Linked DNA regions of Homo sapiens: regions 2 and 3 are each linked to region 1. The links are contacts of gene promoters, found by promoter capture Hi-C in human tissues and cell types (Jung and others, 2019). All regions are on one chromosome and are shown on one strand. The core of a region is centred on a gene start or on the middle of the fragment in contact, and the rest is flanking DNA. Distances in the headings are between cores, read along the strand shown. Region 1 holds the start of ATF4 (activating transcription factor 4). Region 2 has its middle 16 kb from the start of MCHR1. Region 3 overlaps PICK1 (protein interacting with PRKCA 1).

Region 1 (3,401 bases), core at 827-3,326:
TTAAAGACAGGGTCTTGCTCTGTTGCCCAGGCTGAGTTGCAGTGTTGTGATCACAGCTCACTGCAGCTTGGAATTCCTGGGCTCAAGCAATCCTCCCACCTCGGCTTGAGTAGGTGGGGCTACAGGCTGGAGCCACTGCTCCTGGCGCCAACTTCTGTATATCTCAACACTCACGATTCCCCAAGGAGAAAGAAAAAACATACTTTTATTCCAGCATCCAGTATGCCTTGTGTATACCAGTTTTAAAGTTGTTGGTTTCATCTCATTAAATAATAATGAAGAGTCCTCTGAGGCAGCAGGAGGATGTGATGGAGAGTGGCAGAAGTCAGGGTCAGGAGACCTGAGTTCTATGAACAGTGGCAGCAACAGCAACCATTATTGGGCGCTTACATGTACCAGGCAGGCACTGTGCTAAGTGCTTTACATGTATGATCTCACTTCATGAGGCAAGGATACTCATCAGTAGTCTCATTTTACAAATGAGGAAACTGAGGCTCAGAGAGTATAAGTCATTTAGCCAAAATGTCCCAGCCAGGATTCTTTTGGATGCGCTCCCCAAAATCTGTCTTCTAACTCCTACCCCATACTCCCTCCACTGGGAGCCTTGTGACTTTGAGCAAGAAGCTTCATCCCATTGGGCCTCGGTTTACCATTGGAAAGGATTTGTGGGCGAGGTTGAATGAGCGCAGCAGATGGCCTGTGGTTATTTAGAGCAGTGCTTCCCTGGTTGTTTGATATCACAGCGCTCATACTTGTGTGGCCCAGTGAAATGGAGGCGGAAACTCAAAGTTTCCACCTTCACAGGGCCTGACTGGAAGGGGCTGAAGGATGATGGGGAGGTTTCTTGTATTCTTAAAACAGACTACCCCTTCCCAACGCACAACCCCCAGTAAGTGGCCGTGGGTTCCCAAGCGCCTCTCCTCCCTGGGCCATGGGCGTGACTGCTGAAAAGCGGGTTAGGCCGGGGAGTTCAGAATCCGGAGTGAATCCGAACTACCCCAGGGAGACGGCAGCGAAGAAAATCTTGTTCTTAGGAGAACGCAATCTTCGGACACCAGAAGTTCCTCTATGATGCTATTCTGTGGCAGCCTTGCACTTGAGCCGGATGAAAATTGTAAAAACCCAGGTTGGGCGACAGGACGGCGCGTCTTCCCGGCTCCTTTCCAGAGTTTAGGAGGAGCCATGCAGACTCAGCCGGCCTTTGGGGGTAGGTGGACAGGCCCGGCGCGCCCTCTCGAGGCCCCTTCAACCTCCCGGGGGCAGCAGCGCCGTGTCGGCTATGAATGGGGCCTCTGGAAAACTCAGGCTTGGAACAGGTAACCCCCCGGTTTCCGCAGGCCACAAATCACCACCCGCAACCGAAGGACGCGCAGGCTGGGAGCGGCGGCGGGGCCACCAGTGCGGACCTCCACTGAGGGCGGCGGGATCCGACCGCAAGGGCTGGTCCCTGAGGCCACTAAGGGGTGCGCTGGGCTAAGGCCGCCTGGGGGCAGGAGCCAGCGCGATCGTGGCGGGCCAGCAGGCGGGGCTGGCTGAGGACTAGCAGCGACCCGAGACCCCAACCCTTCCCACGCGGACCCCGGGATCCCTCTCCCAGCAGCCGCCCATCTAGGGCCCTGAGCCAATAAGAGCTCGAGATATATATGATTCACCGGGCCTGGGCCAATCACCTTGACGCGCGCTCTTCGCCAGCACCTCGCGCGATAACCTGGCGTCCTCGGCCTTCACAATAAAAACTCTTCGCCGGAAAACGACCTTTCCCCGCCCACTGCGCTGACACCGGAAGCGAGGCGTGTCTGGGAGATCACTCCGCGCTCCGGCGGCGAAGGAAAGAACGGACTCTGATCATAGAAGCCTAGTAAAGTAGTACACCTCTCTCCTTTCGTGAGGCCATAAGAACAAACTCCTTTTCTCGTCACAGCTACGCCCTGGGCATAAACGGTTGGGGCGTCAAAGGGAGGGAGGGAAGGGAGCGGGCGGGAGGAGACGGTCACGTGGTCGCGGCGGAAGGATGCGTCTGTGCTGCGTCCCCATAGAGACGAAGTCTATAAAGGGCCGGCGGGCGGCCACGGCAGCCATTTCTACTTTGCCCGCCCACAGATGTAGTTTTCTCTGCGCGTGTGCGTTTTCCCTCCTCCCCGCCCTCAGGGTCCACGGCCACCATGGCGTATTAGGGGCAGCAGTGCCTGCGGCAGCATTGGCCTTTGCAGCGGCGGCAGCAGCACCAGGCTCTGCAGCGGCAACCCCCAGCGGCTTAAGCCATGGCGTGAGTACCGGGGCGGGTCGTCCAGCTGTGCTCCTGGGGCCGGCGCGGGTTTTGGATTGGTGGGGTGCGGCCTGGGGCCAGGGCGGTGCCGCCAAGGGGGAAGCGATTTAACGAGCGCCCGGGACGCGTGGTCTTTGCTTGGGTGTCCCCGAGACGCTCGCGTGCCTGGGATCGGGAAAGCGTAGTCGGGTGCCCGGACTGCTTCCCCAGGAGCCCTACAGCCCTCGGACCCCGAGCCCCGCAAGGGTCCCAGGGGTCTTGGCTGTTGCCCCACGAAACGTGGCAGGAACCAAGATGGCGGCGGCAGGGCGGCGGCGCGGGCGTGAGTCAAGGGCGGGCGGTGGGCGGGGCGCGGCCGCCCTGGCCGTATTTGGACGTGGGGACGGAGCGCTTTCCTCTTGGCGGCCGGTGGAAGAATCCCCTGGTCTCCGTGAGCGTCCATTTTGTGGAACCTGAGTTGCAAGCAGGGAGGGGCAAATACAACTGCCCTGTTCCCGATTCTCTAGATGGCCGATCTAGAGAAGTCCCGCCTCATAAGTGGAAGGATGAAATTCTCAGAACAGCTAACCTCTAATGGGAGTTGGCTTCTGATTCTCATTCAGGCTTCTCACGGCATTCAGCAGCAGCGTTGCTGTAACCGACAAAGACACCTTCGAATTAAGCACATTCCTCGATTCCAGCAAAGCACCGCAACATGACCGAAATGAGCTTCCTGAGCAGCGAGGTGTTGGTGGGGGACTTGATGTCCCCCTTCGACCAGTCGGGTTTGGGGGCTGAAGAAAGCCTAGGTCTCTTAGATGATTACCTGGAGGTGGCCAAGCACTTCAAACCTCATGGGTTCTCCAGCGACAAGGCTAAGGCGGGCTCCTCCGAATGGCTGGCTGTGGATGGGTTGGTCAGTCCCTCCAACAACAGCAAGGGTGAGTGGGCCACCACCACATCGTCCTGGTGGGATCTAGGGTTAGGGGCCTCCTACCTTTGTATCTGACTCACTTGGCCCCATCACTCAAATGTTTTGCAGAGGATGCCTTCTCCGGGACAGATTGGATGTTGGAGAAAATGGATTTGAAGGAGTTCGACTTGGATGCCCTGTTGGGTATAGATGACCTGGAAACCATGCCAGATGACCTTCTGA
Region 2 (3,538 bases), core at 1,004-3,503, 1.2 Mb after region 1:
CTTGAGTCCTCCCCACCTTCCACTCCAGCTTGGTTCTCTGTCTCTCCATGAAGCCCTCCCAGCCTCATCAATCCTCAAATGAATCCATCATTTTCTGGATTCCCTACAAACCTTCCTAGCTCTGCCACTTATTAGAAGATTAATCTTGCCCTATCATGTAATTTGGATTTTTTTTTATTTTTTTTTATTTTTAATGTACTATTGCCTTGTCTCTCCTAAGTCCATTGTGAGCTTGTGGTTAGGGAGGTGTATTTCTTCATATCTCAGCAGCTTTCACGCATTGCTTTGAACACAGCAGGTACTCACTACATAGTGGTTGATTGATACCTTGTTCACACCTCCCTAGAAGTGGACACCTATTGTCTTGCCTGCCAAACCCATCTTCCTTCTCTGGAAGCTGTTCCCTGTCTCTCTACCCCGCTCTCCCCCATCCTCATTGTAACGATGGAAGACTTCCTTCTCTACAGCCCCCGCCCCGCCATGCACGTCTCTCTCAGCTCCAGAGAGGAAGCTACAGTGTCTCACCAAGCTCTTGGAGGAGAGCAGCAGTTACAGCCAACATTTATTGAACATGTGCCAGAGACTGTTCCAGATGGTACATAAACTCTTAATTCAAGCTCATTAAACCCTGACAAGATCCCTACAAGGCAGGCAATATTTTTATCCCCATTTTACACAGGAGGAGACCAAGGCAGAGGCCTCCCGGCTGCTGCGTCTCCCATGCAGTACATAGGTTTATCACACTCCAATCTCTCTCTTCCTCTGTCACCATCAAATCCCCACTTTATTCTCCTGCCAGCCACTTCCACAGCACAGTCCAGACTGTTTCCCAGCTCCGTGTCTTGCCTTGTGCAGTTCCCCTCACCTGGGAATACTATGCCCCGCCTTTTTTTGTCTGAGTGACTCCTTAATCTTTAAGACTTAGGTCCGTCATTGCCTCTTCCAGGAAGCCCTCCTTGCACAACCTCTTGGCTCTCAGGTGGGGGGAATCGGTACCATCTCTCCATCACACTTTATTTATTTTTCTTTTCTTTTCTTTTCTTTTTTTTTTTTTTTTTGAGACGGAGTCTCACCCTGTCACCCAGGCTGGAGTGCAATGGGGCGATCTCAGCTCACTGCAACCTCCGCCTCCCGGGTTCACACGATTCTCTTGCCTCAGGTTCTGGAGTAGCTGAGATTACAGGCTCCTGCCACCATGCCCAGCTAATTTTTGTATTTTTAGTAGAGACGGGGTTTCACCATGTTGGCCAGGCTGGTCTCGATCTCCTGACCTTGTGATCCTCCCACCTCAGCCTCCCAAAGTGCTCGGATTACAGGCGTGAGCCACCGTGCCCAGCCTATTTGTTTATTTATTATTTATTTATTTTTGAGACAGAGTCTTGTTCTGTCACCCAGGCTGGAGTGCAGTGGCATGATCTCAGCTCACTGCAACCTCCTCCTTCCGGGTTCAAGCAATTATCCTGCCTCAGCCTCCCTAGTAAGTGGGATTACAGGCGTGCACCACTACACCCGGCTAATTTTCTTTCATTTTTAGTAGAGACGGGGTTTCACCGTGTTGGCCAGGCTGATCTCGAACTGACCTCGAGTGATCTGCCCGCCTCGGCCTCCCAAAGTGCTGGGATTACAGGCATGAGCCACCGCGCCTGGTCCCCCTTTTTTTTTTTTTTGAGATGGAGTCTTGCCCAGAGCGAGACTAAAGCATGCAGTGGCATGATCTCGGCTCACTGCCACCTCAGCCTCCCAAAGTGCTGGGATTACAGGCATAAGCCACCGGTAATCACGACCCATCACACTTTAATAATAATGCCCTGGGCTTCCCTCTGGAGTCGTGCTCACCGCATTGCAATTGGACACTTTGTTGACTTATTTGTGCCTCCATAGACTCCAGGCTCCATGAAGACATGGACCTCAGGGCTCAGCCCCCAGCCTGATGCAAAGGAACCTCAGAGTTTTTCCCAAATCCAATGTCCCAGCTGATGCTGCCAGTGGAGAAACCATGCCTCTTATGCCAGCATCAAAGAAACGCAGAGACGCCAGAGCAGTGGAGAGCTTCCATCCAACAAACTGAATACTCATGAGGCACACAGTTACTGGGAGAAAAGTGGCAGCATTGGACAGACAATGGCAAGAGTTGTCAGGGATGTGCAGAAATGGGAACCCTCAGACACGGCTCATGGGAATGTCAAATAGCGCAGCCACTGTAGAAAACAGTTTAGCAGTTTCAAAATGTTAAATATAGAGCTACTATAGAATGCAGCACTTCCAATCCTACAAGGCGGGCAATACTACAAGGCAGGCAATCCTACAACGCAGGCAGGCATTACAGACTCTACTGCATTTTTACAATGTGAACTTTCCATTCCTTTCTTGAACTCTGTTCCTGCCTCTTCCTCACAATCTATTACACAGCTTTCAGGGGCATCAAAGACTGAAACGCTATCTTCTTCTATTTGAAATGGTTCCAAAGTTGCTTTAATAATGGCCCAATCATTCCATACTGTAAGTGGGATGATTTTACCTTCCCTACTTGCTTGTTTTAATTCTTTGCCAATTTTTTCCCAGTCTTTTAAATCTAAAGTTCCCTGTTCTGGAAACCATGGGCAGAATTGTTCTATTGTTTGAAATAGCGTAATTATATTTTCTGTAGAAGCTTTAACTCCCCCTCTTCTGATGGAGATATATACCCAAGAGAATTGAAAATATATCCACACAACAACTTGTACACAAAGGTTTATAGAAGCATTATTCATAATTACCGAAAGGTGGAGACGGCCGGGCGCAGTGCCTCACACCTGTAATCCCAGCAATTTGGGAGGCCAAGGCAGGCAGATCACGAGGTCAGGACTTTGAGACCAGCCTGGCCAACATGGTGAAACCCTGTCTCTACCAAAAATACAAAAATTAGCTGGGTGTGGTGGCACATGCCTGTAATCCCAGCTACTCGGGAGGCTGAGGCATGAGAATCGCTTGAACCCAGGAGGCAGAGGTTGCAGTGAGCCGAGATCGCATCACCGCACTCCAGCCTGGCGACAGAGCGAGACTCTGTCTCAAAAAAAAAAAAAAAAAAAAAAGTGGAGGCATCTACAAGTCCCTCAACTAATTAATAGACAAATAAAATGCAGTAAATCTATGCAATGGAATTATTCAGCCACAAAATAAAGTACTGATACATGCTACAACACACATGAACCTTGAAAATATGCTAAATAAAAGCCAGTCACAAAAGATCTCATATTGTGTAATTCCATGTACATAAAATGTCCAGAATAGGCTGGGCATGGTGGCTCACGCCTGTAATCCCAGCAGTTTGGGAGGCTGAGGCGGGAGGATCACTTCTGGCCAGGAGTTTGAGACCAGCTTGGGCAACATAGCAAAACCCCATCTCTACAAAAAAAATTAAAAATTAGCCAGGTGTGGTGGTGCACACTTGTAGACCCAACTCCTTGGGAGGCTGAGGCACAAAGGATCGCTGGAGTCCAGGAGTTTGAGGCTGCAGTGAGCTATGATCATACCACTGCACTTCCAGCCTGGGTGACAG
Region 3 (3,881 bases), core at 662-3,161, 1.5 Mb before region 1:
TCTATCACCTGTAAATATCTATTGACTTTGCCTCGTCTGGTAGATGAGAATTTAGTTCTTCCCATGACCAGTCTGTTTCCTCTCATCCCACCTTTCCAACATAGTTATTTTTCTATTTTTGGCTAAATTAATATTAGTACAACGGAGATTTTGTTCGGGAAATCTTTTCCAGATGCCTCCTAGGCTCTGTTGTAGGCACTAGGGATAAAAGAATAAGAAAGCAAAGATCCTACTCTTGCGGAGCCCTCATTCTAGTCAAAACAACTCTATGTTTAACTTTCTGAGGAATCTATGTTTCTTTTCTTAATTCAGCCTGTTCTTGTGTTTTGAGAGGGTGGGGGTAATTTCCTGTTTTGTTTTTTTCATTTGCACTCTCCTTGTTTTCTCAGTATGTTTTCCACAATTTCCCATCTTTTTTTTTTTTTTTTTAAATTAAGTCTTGCTCTGTTGCCAGGCTGGAGTGCAATGGCGTGATCTTGGCTCACTGCAACCTCCAGCCCCCGGGTTCAAGTGATTCCCCTGCCTCAGCCTCCGAAGTAGCTGGGATTACAGGCACGTGCCACCACGCCTGGCTAATTCTTGTATTTTTAGTAGAGACGGGGTTTCACCATGTTGGTCAGGCTGGTCTCGAACTCCTGACTTCAAGTGATCCACCTGCCTCGACCTCCCAAAGTGCTGGGATTACAGGCGTGAGCCACCATGCCCGGCCCCATTTTCTTCAGTCTGTTTTCCGCCCTGTAGTCTCTCCCCCTTGTGCCCTCCCCCTGCCCCTGCCCCTTCTCTTTGGATTCCCCCATCTTGGGGGTCCCTTTCCTGGTTTACTCCCTGATCTCCCGTGGAGAATATCCTCCTGTAGCTTTCTGAGAAAGGGCACGTGGGATGTCAATTTTTTGAGACCTCGGGTCTGTCTTTTTTGGTCATTGTGGTTCCCATATTCCTTTCAGTTGACATTTTGGCTCATTCGATTCAAGAATGAACGTCAAGGTTGACAGTAATTCCTGTGTGGAAGTGTGATGGCCTTGTCACATTGTCCTTTGCTGTCACATGGCTATTGCCATTCTTATTGGTGATCCTTTATTTGTGATGTGTTTTATTTCTGATCTGTGAGAACTTTGAGGACTTTGTTTTTGTCCCTGGTGTTGGGAGGAGTCGTGATGGTAGCTGCAGGCACAGGCTTTTGTTTATTGTGCCAGATCCTCAGAGGGCGTCATCGGGAACACCATGTCCTTCTTGTCATGTATCTCGATGATGACATCCTGCTTTCTGTATTCTCTGTTCTGCTTTTTTCTATTTTTTTATTGTGGTAAAATTTACCATCTTAACTTTTTTTTTTTTTGAGACAGGATCTTGCTCTGTCGCCCAGGCTGGAGTGCAGGGGTGCGATCATGGCTCACTGCAGCCTCAACCTCCTGGGCTCAAGCGATCCTCCCACCTCAGACCCCCGAGTAGCTGGGACTACAGGCACGCGCCACCATGCCTGGCTCATTTTTGTATTTTTTTTGTAGAGACAGAGTTTTGCCATATTGCCCAGGCGATCTTCCCACCTCGGTTTCCCAAAATGCTGGGATTACAGGTGCGCACCACCGTGCCCAGCCCTTGGTCTATTTTTGAATTAGGTTGTTTGGTTTTTGTTGTTGAGTTTTAAGAATTCTCTACAAAGCACAATCGGCTAAGAGGAAAAAAAGAAAAAAGAGTTTTAGGAATTCTGCATATATTCTGGATATTAATCCCTTATCAAAAATGTGATTTGCAAATATTTTCTCCCATTCTGTGGGTTGCCTTTCTTTTCTTCTCTTCTCTGTTCTTTTTTTTTTTTTTTTTCGAGACAGTGTCTCACTCTGTTGCCCAAGCTGGAGTACAGTGACGGGATCTCAGCTCACTGCAGCCTCTGTTTCCCAGGCTCAAGCGATCCTCCCACCTCAGCCTCCCAAGTAGCTGGGACTACAGGCGTACACCACCATGCCCAGCTAATTTTCGTGTTTTTTGTAGAGACAAGGTTTTGCCACATTGCCCAGACTGGATGGTGTATTTTGATGCACCAGTTTTAAAATTTTTATGAAGTTCAATTTGTTTATTTTTTGTTACTTGGATCTTAGGTGTCACATCCAAGAAATTACTGTAAACTCCAATGTCGTGAAGGTTTTGGACTAGGCATTTTTCTGAGTTTTATAGTTTTAACTTTTACATTTAGGTCTTTGAACAATTTTGAGTTAATTATTATTATTATTATTATCTTCGAGACAGAGTCTCGTTCTGTTGCTCAGGCTGGAGTGCAGTGACATGATCTCGGCTTACTACAACCTCCACTTCCCAGGTTCAAGCGATTCTCCTGCCTCAGCCTTCTGAGTAGCTGGGACTGCAGGCGCCTGCCACCATGCCCAGCTAATTTTTGTATTTTTAGTAGAGATGGGGTTTCGCCATGTTGGCCAGGTTACTCTCGAATTCCTGACCTCAGGTGATCTGCCTGCCTTGGCCTCCCAGAGTGTTGGAATTACAGGTGTGAGCCACTGCGCCTGGCCTTGAGTTAATTTTTGTATGTGGTGTTAAGTAGTGTCAACTTCATTTTTCACATACCATTGTTGAAATGACTGTCCTTCCCCATTGAATGTTCTTGACACCCTTGTCAAAAATCATTTGATGCCGCCGGGCACGGTGGCTCACACCTGTAATCCCAGCACTTTGGGAGGCCAAAGCAGGTGGATCACCTGAGGTCGGGAGTTTGAGACCAGCCTGACCAACATGGAGAAACCCTGTCTCTACTAAAGATACGAAATTAGCCGGGCGTGGTAGCGCATGCCTGTAACCCCAGCTACTCGGGAGGCTGAGGCAGGAGAATTGCTTGAACCCGGGAGGCGGAGGTTGCGGTGAGCGAGATGGCGCTATTGCACTCCAGCCTGGGCAACAAGAGCGAAACGCCGACTCAAAAAAAAGAAATCATTTGACTATGTATTTGAGGCAGGAGAATTGCTGGAGCCCAGGAGTTCAGTGCCACAGTGAGCTGTGATCACGCCACTGCACTCCAGCCCGGGTGGTGAGACGCTTTCTCAAAAAACGAGAGCAGAGGGTAGAGTGGAAGACAGAGCCAGGCAGTGGTCAGGTGTCTTCCCAGGTTCCATCTTAGCCCTCCCTTTCTTCCCCCACCACTCTCCTTATGCACCCACAGGTATTTGACAACACCCCAGCAGCCTTGGACGGCACAGTGGCAGCTGGCGATGAGATCACCGGTGTCAATGGCAGGTCAATCAAAGGGAAAACTAAGGTGGAGGTGGCGAAGATGATTCAGGAGGTGAAGGTAAGGGCTGCTGCAGAGCAGGTGTCCAGAGGCAGCAACACATGTTTCTGAGACCTCCAGGCTGCCAGAGGTCCCAGCAGGCCTGGAAGGGGGTATCAGCCCTCACCGCCCCCTTCCTTGTCATGTGCAGGGTCAGGGTCACACTCCAGCCTCCCTCATCCATCCCTCATTCATTCAATAAATACTAATCGTGCTCCAGGACTTGTGCTGAACCTTGGCAAGAGAGTGGGCAGCAAGACCACAAGGTCCCCATGAGCTCCCAGGGAGCTGACAGACTTGGAACCACCCCTCAGGCAAGCCCATGTGTCCCCAGTCAGTGCCAGAGCTGAAGCTAAAAGTCCAAGGTGATCCTCCCTGGGTCAGTAGACACCCAATAATGTCAGCCGGGTCACGCTGGGCCTGTGAGGGCTAGGAGGGAAAGAAGAGTGCCCTTTCCCCATCCTGTAGGAACTTTCGGTCCCACACAGCCTCCTGGGCTCATAGACACCCAGAGACCCCCCTCCCAGGCCAGCTGATCTTCTGCTCTACAGACCAGAGTCACACACTGCCTGCCCCGCTTTCCCCCACCCCTGCCGCTCCAGGACTGGAA

Evidence for each region. The method cuts DNA at HindIII sites, captures the fragments that hold promoters and counts their contacts. A contact is called where the count stands out against the background at its distance.
Region 2: a contact is called between a fragment that was not itself captured here and the fragment with the promoter of ATF4 in region 1, in 1 of the 25 tissues and cell types used here (lymphoblastoid cells).
Region 3: a fragment that was not itself captured here is called in contact with the fragment with the promoter of ATF4 in region 1 in 1 of the 25 tissues and cell types used here (dorsolateral prefrontal cortex).

Annotation. Positions count from the first base shown.
Region 1 is chr22:39,518,486-39,521,886 of GRCh38, forward strand. It overlaps ATF4 (activating transcription factor 4), which reads left to right and starts at 2,077. Exons shown (of 3, transcript NM_182810.3): 1 at 2,077-2,266; 2 at 2,869-3,186; 3 at 3,288-3,401. The coding sequence starts at 2,961. RefSeq lists a silencer at 1,415-1,614 and enhancers at 1,995-2,144, 2,505-2,554. The HindIII fragment of the contact is 4,198 bases long and covers 1-3,401 here.
Region 2 is chr22:40,694,074-40,697,611 of GRCh38, forward strand. No RefSeq gene overlaps it. Among named protein-coding and RNA genes, the nearest start is that of MCHR1, 16 kb to the left of the region's middle. The HindIII fragment of the contact is 5,724 bases long and covers 1-3,538 here.
Region 3 is chr22:38,061,839-38,065,719 of GRCh38, forward strand. It overlaps PICK1 (protein interacting with PRKCA 1), which reads left to right. Exons shown (of 13, transcript NM_012407.4): 4 at 3,164-3,292. Among named protein-coding and RNA genes, the nearest start is that of PICK1, 6.4 kb to the left of the region's middle. The HindIII fragment of the contact is 9,593 bases long and covers 1-3,881 here.